2 separate regions of the Homo sapiens genome follow, and region 2 is linked to region 1. The links are contacts of gene promoters, found by promoter capture Hi-C in blood cells and fetal thymus (Javierre and others, 2016). All regions are on one chromosome and are shown on one strand. The core of a region is centred on a gene start or on the middle of the fragment in contact, and the rest is flanking DNA. Distances in the headings are between cores, read along the strand shown.

The links. Contacts are between HindIII fragments. The CHiCAGO score rates a contact against its expected background, and 5 or more counts as called.
Region 2: a contact is called between a fragment that was not itself captured here and the fragment with the promoter of CASTOR1 in region 1, in 16 of 17 cell types (naive CD4 T cells, naive CD8 T cells, total CD8 T cells and 13 more). The highest score is 20.4, in naive CD4 T cells.

Annotation. Positions count from the first base shown.
Region 1 is chr22:30,287,054-30,291,998 of GRCh38, reverse strand. CASTOR1 (cytosolic arginine sensor for mTORC1 subunit 1) reads left to right here and starts at 2,494. Exons shown (of 9, transcript NM_001037666.3): 1 at 2,494-2,614; 2 at 3,223-3,293; 3 at 4,439-4,626; 4 at 4,712-4,844. The coding sequence starts at 2,502. TBC1D10A (TBC1 domain family member 10A) reads left to right here. Exons shown (of 9, transcript NM_031937.3): 9 at 1-9. RefSeq lists an enhancer at 1,177-1,236 and silencers at 2,117-2,556, 2,757-2,836. The HindIII fragment of the contact is 5,917 bases long and covers 1-4,079 here.
Region 2 is chr22:30,358,001-30,361,916 of GRCh38, reverse strand. The region is part of intron 1 of CCDC157 (coiled-coil domain containing 157); the gene reads right to left. Among named protein-coding and RNA genes, the nearest start is that of CCDC157, 3.0 kb to the right of the region's middle. RefSeq lists an enhancer at 3,542-3,916. The HindIII fragment of the contact is 298 bases long and covers 2,508-2,805 here.

The DNA of each region.
Region 1 (4,945 bases), core at 1,245-3,744:
GTATAGAGAGCTCGTGTACAGCTAGGGGCTGGGAAGGGGGTACCACCTTGGTCACCTTGGTGCTCAGCATCTCTTCTCTTTGCCCTACAGAGCCCCTTCTCCTGGGCCCCAGCCCAGCACCAGAGCCTCTCTGAGAGGTACCTTTGCCAGAGGACATGCCAAGTCCCTGGTCAGCCCCCATTCTTAACCCCCATTTTCACTCACCCCATCCCCACTGCCTTATGTCTACCTTCTGCCACAGATGAGGGACACCAGGGCTGGAGCTCAGTGCTGGGCAGAGCAGGGCGTGCTCCCTAGGCCTTGGTCCTCACCCACCCACCAAGGGGGCAGGGACTCCTAAGGAGGAGGTTTCAGGGTCTTCCTCCTTCAAGTCCTGGCCTGGATGCTACCTCAGGCTCCAGTAAGTTTCTGAGAGCTGATTCTGGGTTGGGGTCAGGGACGGGGCCCGGAGTGGAGCACCACGAATGTCCTCACAGGCTCAGCCCAGGCCCTCAGGGAGGGGGGCGAATTGTGGTTCTTTGATAAAATGCCGCCTTCGATTTACTGCCAAGTGCCAGGCTGGACTGGTCAAGTAGGCTCCATTAGCCCCATTTAACAGACGAGGAAACAGGAGCTGAATGGGAAAGCCTCAGCCGGATTTGCACCAAGAGCCCCTCACTCAGCTTCCTCTCCTGACCAGGGCTCCAGGAGACCTGACTCTGCCCTTGAGGGCCCAGGCAGGCACTGCGGTCACAACCTGATGACTGGTGAGGGCAAGGACAGGGTGTCCCTGGGAGAGGCCCCCCTTCTGCTGAGGAAGCAGCTTTTCCAGTCAAACAATAGCGCTATTCCTGGCAGATGACCAAGCTGGGCCAGGCCAGGCCATAGCGGGAGGGGGCAGGAGAGGGAGGAGCAGAGCCTCCCTGGGAGCTTTCAGCCTTCGCCTGGGCCTGGAACATCCTGTCCTGGTACAGCTGGGGATACTGAGGCCTAGGGAGGTGAAGGGTTTCAAGAGACTATCAGGGTAGGCCACTCCACTTCCTGCCTCCTTCCCCTCAGCCCCATGGTTTCCCACTCTGTCTGCACCTGCCATTGATGAGATGGGCTCAGCCTTTGAGAAGCTCCTCCTTCCCCTAGTCCTCCAGGGGATAGGCCAGGATGTGGTGGCTACATAGTGTTTCACAGGAATGTGTCAAGCCCGAGAGTCCAGGGAGGAGGCTTAGCTTGGCTTCCATCTGCCTATGGTGGGGGCTCCAGAGCAGGCAGAGGGCCTGCTTAGGCCTGCTGGGTCCCAATCAGGCCTGAGGCCTGCTTTAGTCTACTTGGTTCAAAGCCTCACATCTGAGGCCTCAGGGTGCTCAGGCCAGGCAAGGGTCCCCTGGAGCATTCTCAGCCCTGCATGGAGCCAACATGGACATGCTGATGCCTGCTTAGCCTTGGGGGGGTCTTAGACCTGTGAAGGCCTGATAAGATCTGGGGTGTCTGCCAGTGCCGGGGGCCTCCTTGAACCTGAAGCAAGTTTAGATGTGCACAGGCTAGCTAAGGGCTGCAGGCTTTGGGGCTCAAGTTTCAGGCTTGAGGTCTGAGTACTCACTGAACCTCAGCTGCAAGGGCCTCCCCCACCAAAGTCTGAGCACTGGGCATTACTGGCTCAAGCACTTCCGGGTTTTGTTGGTATCGAGGGACCTCAAGCCTTAGGCCTTGGCCACCTGCAGCCCCCTAACCCAAAGTATGTCGCTCAGGCAGAGGTGGCTAGGATTCTACCTCTGTGTGCCCCTGGTGAGGAGCCTTCTATTTTGAAAGTTGGATGAAAGGAACAAGTGGGGCTACCAGGCCAGGTTTCAATTTGTCAGCCCCCTCGCAAGCGGGGAAGGGTAGGTATCAATCGCAATCCTGTGTTGGCGGCCCTGCCCCCTGCAGCCATGAGAGGCAGGAGAGCGAAAGGCGCCCGGGGGACAGCGCTGCACAGCAGACCTGTGCCTCTCATTGCTCCGGGGATTTGGGGGCAGCGTTCTGGTCCTAGCCGAGCTCCAGTTTGTTTCGTGTCCCTTCTGTCTCAAGGACTTCAATCATGAAACCCACGTGTGTGCCAGAAGGACAGAAACGTCCCCTCCGGGATGCTCCCACCGGCTGCGCAGCTGGCTTTCCGCGGAAAGGGCGGAGCCCAGGGAGGGGGCGCGTCAGGGGCGGGGCCTGGAGGAGTCAGACGGGGTGGGGTCTATCCCCGAGCCAGTACTAAAAAAGGCGGAGCCGTTCGGGGCGGTCTCGGTGGGCTGGCTGGAAAGCGGGATGAGGTTCTGGCGTTAGGAGGAGGCGTGACCACCCAATAGGCTTCTCTTCCCGCGGGGCGTGGCCGTCAAGGAGCCGGACGCCGCGCCTGGCTGGGCGGGTCAGCCTCGCAGCGGGCGGCGTGGACGCGGCAGCGCAGCGGCTCCTTTAAGGCTCGGGCACCACCCCCGCCGCCCCGCCTCCCGTGCGGCCTGGGTCTAGTTGGCGGCGGGGTCGGGTCCGCGCGAGCCGCGATGGAGCTGCACATCCTAGAACACCGGGTGCGGGTGCTGAGCGTCGCCCGTCCCGGTCTCTGGCTCTACACCCACCCGCTCATCAAGCTGCTCTTCCTGCCCCGCCGCAGCCGGTGCGCGCCCGGGTTCGGGAGCGCAGATAGGGGCTGGGGGCTCTGCTCTCGCTCCGGGCCAGGGTCGGAGGATTAGGATCGCCGTAAGGCAGGCAGGCAGGCGGGCGGGAGCGGGTGGGGAGGACTCTCCCCGTCCGGCCGCCATCCGGCCTGGGGGACCGCCGCCTATCCGGCCCCGTGAGGCCCCCTCCCAGGGGCAAAGCGCAAACAGCCTGGGATGGGCAATGCTTAACTCAGTAGTGTCAAATGGGGGCATTCCTACCTGGTCACTGCGGGGAGCTCCTTCCAGGACGCCTCCCTTCATGTCAGAGGGGCTGGACTAGGGGGTCCAAGGTCCGACGCCCCTGGGGCTGTCGCCGCGGGTGTGAACCTCTCCTCCCTCCAGGAGTGGAGGGGTGGAGGGTTCCTGGAGAGGTCGGGAGGCCGGAAAGTAGCCCCCAACCCCCGAGATGGGGCTAACATCCCATTGGCCTGGAAATTAAAGGCCGAGAGGGCAAGAAGGCGCCCGGCCCAGGGTCGCGGGGGTGTCTCGGGGCAGATGGAGAGAAATCCACTCCCGACCCCTAGTTCTCCACACCAAGCTGAAGATGCTCCCCACCCCCAACCAGGTGCAAGTTCTTCAGCCTGACGGAGACCCCTGAGGATTACACGCTTATGGTGGACGAGGAGGGCTTTAAAGGTGGGGGTTGGTCTGGGGAACGGGAGTACGGGAGGGGCTTGTCGTGCTCCCCTTCTGTAGGGTTCTCACCAGTTGCTGGGATCCGTCCCAAGAGCTTAAGCCTTAAAAGCAGATGGGTCGGGGTTCGAATCCTACTCCACCACTCCCTGGCTGTGTGCCCTTGAGCAAATCACTTTCCCTCTCTGAGCTGTTTTCTCTTATGTAAAATGGGTATAGTTATGGTTCTGATACATAGGGTCCCATGAGGCCTTTATAAACTTAAAACCGCTGAGGGGCACTCAGCAGTCTTAGGCCTGCAGAAGGGCCTCTGTTATGATTCCAGTCAAGTGCTGCTGTTAGAAATCCCTGGGTATTATTTCCTCCTGGTCTTACTCTCTGGTTTGGGTCACCTCCTCCCCTGCTGGTCTGGAAACTCCAGGAGTCTGAGGGAAGGAATGCAGGAGCAGGCAGCCATCTCAGGGGAGGGTCCTGGAGGCCTCCTGGCTGTGCTGGGGTGAATAGCAGCCACCCAGGCCCTGGCCCCAGCTCAGGACTGGACGCCAGCCTGGGCCCTCCCTGGGGCCTGGAGCTGACGCCTAGCTCCTCCTCCTGCTGCTGGCCCTGCCCATCCTCACAGGCTTGGAGTCTCAGGCCAGCTAGCTGGAGCTTAGCCTGTCCCCATGCTCCACTGCAGGCCTTAGTTTCCCTGTTTTTACTTCAGAAGTCTGGGTCTGCAAAAGGGGAAGGCAATCCCCCAGCCAACCTGATCTGCGAATGCCCCCTGGTGGTGCCATGTGGTACAAAGCTTCTGCTAACCCACAGAAGACACCGTAGTGAGGTAGATATTGTCGTCCCATTTTACAGATGAGGAAACTGAGACTCAAATCACCCACCCCAGGTCATAAGACAAATTAACAAAGCTGGGATTTGAACCCAGGTCTGTCTGAATCTGGACCTCTGATCTTAAGTGGGAAGTTTCAATGCCACCAGGCCAGCACTTGAAGCCTTTCTCAGTCTTTGCACACATAGGGACTTCAGGAGCCCCAGCCTCCAGACCTGCCCTTACCTTGATGGAGCCCTCCAAGGCACAGAAAGGGAAACTGAGGCTCAGAGAGGGGCAGGGGCCAGCCTTGTAGACCCTGACCTGACATGTCCCCTGCCCACAGAGCTGCCCCCATCTGAGTTCCTGCAAGTAGCTGAGGCCACATGGCTGGTGCTGAACGTGTCGTCTCACAGCGGTGCGGCAGTGCAGGCTGCTGGGGTCACCAAGATCGCCCGTTCGGTCATCGCGCCACTGGCCGAGCACCACGTGTCTGTGCTGATGCTGTCCACTTACCAGACGGACTTCATCCTGGTGAGTTTCCTGCTGGTGCTGATGCAGAGCAGGGTGGATATAGGTACCTGGGAGCCCATGTGATGTGCCATCTGCTGTGGCCCAGGTGCGGGAGCAGGACCTGTCCGTGGTGATCCACACGCTGGCCCAGGAGTTCGACATTTACCGCGAGGTGGGCGGAGAGCCTGTGCCTGTGACGAGGGATGATTCCAGCAATGGCTTTCCCCGCACTCAGCATGGTGAGGGCCGCCCCCTGACACTTGGACTTGGGCAGGGCCTCCTCTTCCCACTGGGTCCCTTCCCTTTTGGGCCCCAGTGGGGCAGGAGGACCCCGGCCAGT
Region 2 (3,916 bases), core at 1,407-3,906, 70 kb before region 1:
AGGGCTTCCTGAGAGCAGGGTAGAAGGCTGTCCAGGAAGGAGAAGGGGTTCCAGACTGAAGGAAGGAGGGGAGAGAAGGGGCAGGTGGGCTGCCTGCCTTCAGCCTGAGCAGAGGGTACTCTTCAATAGTGCTGGCTTCGACTGAAGAACCTACTGTGTGCCACTTCCCTGAATCTGCCTCATTTCTACAGAGGAGGAAACTGAGGCTCTGAAAAGTTAGGGAGCTTGCCCGAGGTCACTCAGGAAGTTGAGATTCTGAGTCCACCATCTCTGCTCTGTCCTTCTAGAGCAGCAGTGTCCAAAAGAAATATACTATAAGCCACACACACAATTTTAGGTTTTTCTACTAGCCACAGATGGGGTACAGGAAATGCTACCCCAAAATATGGCACCTTAGAAATGCAAAAAACTGCAGAAGCAGGAAGGCCACCCTCATCTTCCCCTCATCCTTCTTCTCTGAAGCAGGCCGCCAGGAAGGTCAGTCTGTGACCTCTCCCCTCCTCCCCTGAAGACCCTCATGTGACAGGTGTCCTGCCCTATACCCAGATGGGAAGCAATGTCACATAGGGACACCAAGAAGAATCTGAGCAAACAGGCCTTACTAAATCCATGCCCTCCCTCATGTATTACTACTAGATCATACCTTTTTTCTTTTTTTTTTTTTTTTTTGAGACAGAGTCTTGCTCTGTCACCCAGGCTGGAGTACAGTGGCACAATCTCAGCTCACCACAACCTCCGCCTCCTGGGTTCAAGCAATTCTCCTGTCTCAGCCTCCTGAGTAGCTGGGACTACAGGTGCACACCACCACGCCCAGCTAATTTTTGTATTTTTATTATTTTTTAAATTTTTAATTGTATTTATTATTTTTTTGAAAGAGAGTCTCGCTCTGTTGCGCAGCCTGGAGTGCAGTGGTGCGATCTTGGCTCACTACAACCTCCACTTCCTGGGTTCAAGTGATTCTCCTGCTTCAGCCTCCTGAGTAGGTGGGACTACAGGCACGTGCCACCATGCCCAGTGAATTTTTGTATTTTTTATTAGAGATGGGGTTTCACTATGTTGGTCAGGCTAGTCTCAAACTCCTGACCTCATGATCCACCTACCTCAGCCTCCCAAAGTGCTGGGATTATAGGTATGAGCCACCATGCCCGGCCAATTTTTGTATTTAGTAGTAGAGGCAGGGTTTCACCATATTGGTCAGGCTGGTCTCCAACTCCTGAGCTCAGGTGATCCACCCTCCTTGGTCTTCCAAAGTGCTGGGATTACAGGCATGAACTATCGCGCCCCGCCAGATCATACCTTTGGGTCCACCAATCATAATTCTGCACACTGACCATAAAAACACAGATCTCCTTGTTTCTTTGGGTTTTCATTTCTGAAGGTTTCCATGTCAGGGAAAACTTTTTTTTTTTTTTGAGACGGAGTCTCGCTCTGTCGCTCAGGCTGGAGGGCAGTGGCGTGATCTCGGCTCACTGCAAGCTCTGCCTCCTGGGTTCACGCCATTCTCCTGCCTCAGCCTCCAGAGTAGCTGGGACTACAGGCGCCCGCCACAACACCCAGCTAATTTTTTTGTATTTTTTAGTAGAGATGGGGTTTCACCATGTTAGCCAGGATGGTCTCAATCTCCTGACCTTGTGATCTGCCCGCCTCAGCCTCCCAAAGTGCTGGGATTACAGGCGTGAGCCACCGCGCCCGGCAGGTAAACTTTTATTAAATTTGTATGCTTTTCTCTTGTTAATCTGTTTTTAAAATTTTATTTCATTTATTTATTTTTTAGAGACAGGGTCTCACTCTGTTGCTCAGGCTGCAGTGCAGTGGTGCTGTCATAGCTCATTGTAACCTTTAACTCCTGGGCTCAAGTGATCCTCCCCCTCAGCCTCCTGAGTAGGTAGGACTACAGGTGGGTGCCACCGCACCTGGCTAATTTTTTTGTTTTTTGTAAAGACAGAGACTTGCTATGTTGCCCAGGCTGGTCCTGGCCTCTTGGCCTCAAGCAATCTTTTCGTCTTGTCCTCTCAAAGTGCTGGGATTATAGGCGTGAGACACCTTAATCTTTTATTAAACTTGCAATGAGTGAGGAAAATATATTACTTTTTCTCCCCTACACATTAAAAAGAGTAAAAATAAAGGTCAATTAACTTTAATTTTAACAGCATATTTTATTTAACCCAATATACCCAAAACATTATCATTTCAACATATCAATATAAAATTATTAAGGAGATTTTTAACATTTTTATGGTATTAAGTCTCAAAATCTAATGCCTGTTTGACAACACATGGCCATTTGGACCAGAAACCATTTCAAATGTTCAAAATCTGTGTTGGCTGGTAGCTACTGTATTGGACGGTGCAGAGGGTTGGATGCTGTGTGTGCATTCAGCAAATGAGGACTGAGTATCTGTTCCATACCAGGCACTACGTCAAGACCAGGAACACAGCAGGGCACAAGGAGCCCTGTCCTCCAGGAACTACCAGTGATATCTGAGGGTCTCCGCAAGGGGTAAGCTTGTGTGTGCCAGTTTCACCCATGGGATATCACCCAAGGGATACGTGTCTGCCCCATGATACTCACAACACACATGCCCACATCCTACACTCCTGTTGTCTTGGCAACTGCCAATGAACTACTGCTGCCCAAGAGATTTTATGTCTCCAAGGAGGGAGGCAGAAACAAAGGCAAAATAACACACGGAAGTATTCTGGGTTTCCTTCCTGGAATGGGCATGAAAGAAATAAAGAAATCAAGAAGCCCCCAACCTGGGAGAAAGTGTATTCAGGTGGCAAAGCATCTGGAATTCATAAGCTTGCTTGTGAAGGCACCAGGAAACACTGATCTGTTCACCTTCAAATAACTATAGCTGCCACATGGGGCCATCCTGGATATCAACTCCCAGTAGATCCTGGATCAGATAAGCAGCAGCAAATGCCCAAGTGTCAGGAAAATCCAAGATGACCTTATGTTGTTTCTTCTGAAAATTGAAGTCATGCAGATACAAGCATAGTTTAAGAAGTACTTTATGTGTGTGTCAAGTGAAGAAGCACTTGACGTGAGCTCTTTCTGCAATTCCTGGGTCTTGAGTGGAACCCTCAGTCTGAAGCTGCCAGCCCGGCACTGTACCCATGACCACATAGGTGACAGCACTAATTGAGCCCTTAGGGAGGAGCAGCAGCTATCTCTGCCTCTCCTCAATTTCCTGGGGCTCAAGGTGGACTTTTGACTCCCAGAGAAGAGCAGGAGCCTTTCCTGCATTTCCGTTCAACATTCAAGCGCCTTCTCTCTCTCAGAACTAGTACCCTAACCCTACTCGGTAAAGATGATGCCTACTTCCCAGCCAGGGTGCCTGGTGAGATTCAAAGCCACCACCATGAAAACACGGGAAACTCTAAAACCAGCTATGTGGCAGATGTCAGTCTCAAACATGAGATTGTTAATTGCCTGGATCCCTGGGGATACTGAAGGGACTGAGGGCAAAATAACTAACTGCACTAGTAGAGGAATAAGACTGGCTTGAACTTGCATTCCCACTCTACCAACTCCAAACTTCACTGTCCTCATTTGTAAATAGGTTGCTATAAGGAATAAATGACGTAACACATGAAGTGTTGGGCACAGTATCCGGCTCATAGTAAATGACCAATACATCCCAGCTATCATTATTCTACATTAATAACAACCATGACACACAGCTACGATGTGTGTGGGGGGAGGGGGAAGACTTGAGAGAGCAACCTTTCCTATCACTCCCTCATTTCACAGGTGAGGAAACTGAAGTCCAGGAACAGGTTCGGAGCCAGCTCCCCGCTTTCCAGAGTTGAGGAGAGGAGGAAGGAGAGAGGGGGGAATCGCAGGAGAGGGAGAGAAGCCGGCGGGATTCGAGGTAGGCCTCTGGGGAGCGAGCCGCATAGCTTGCAGGGC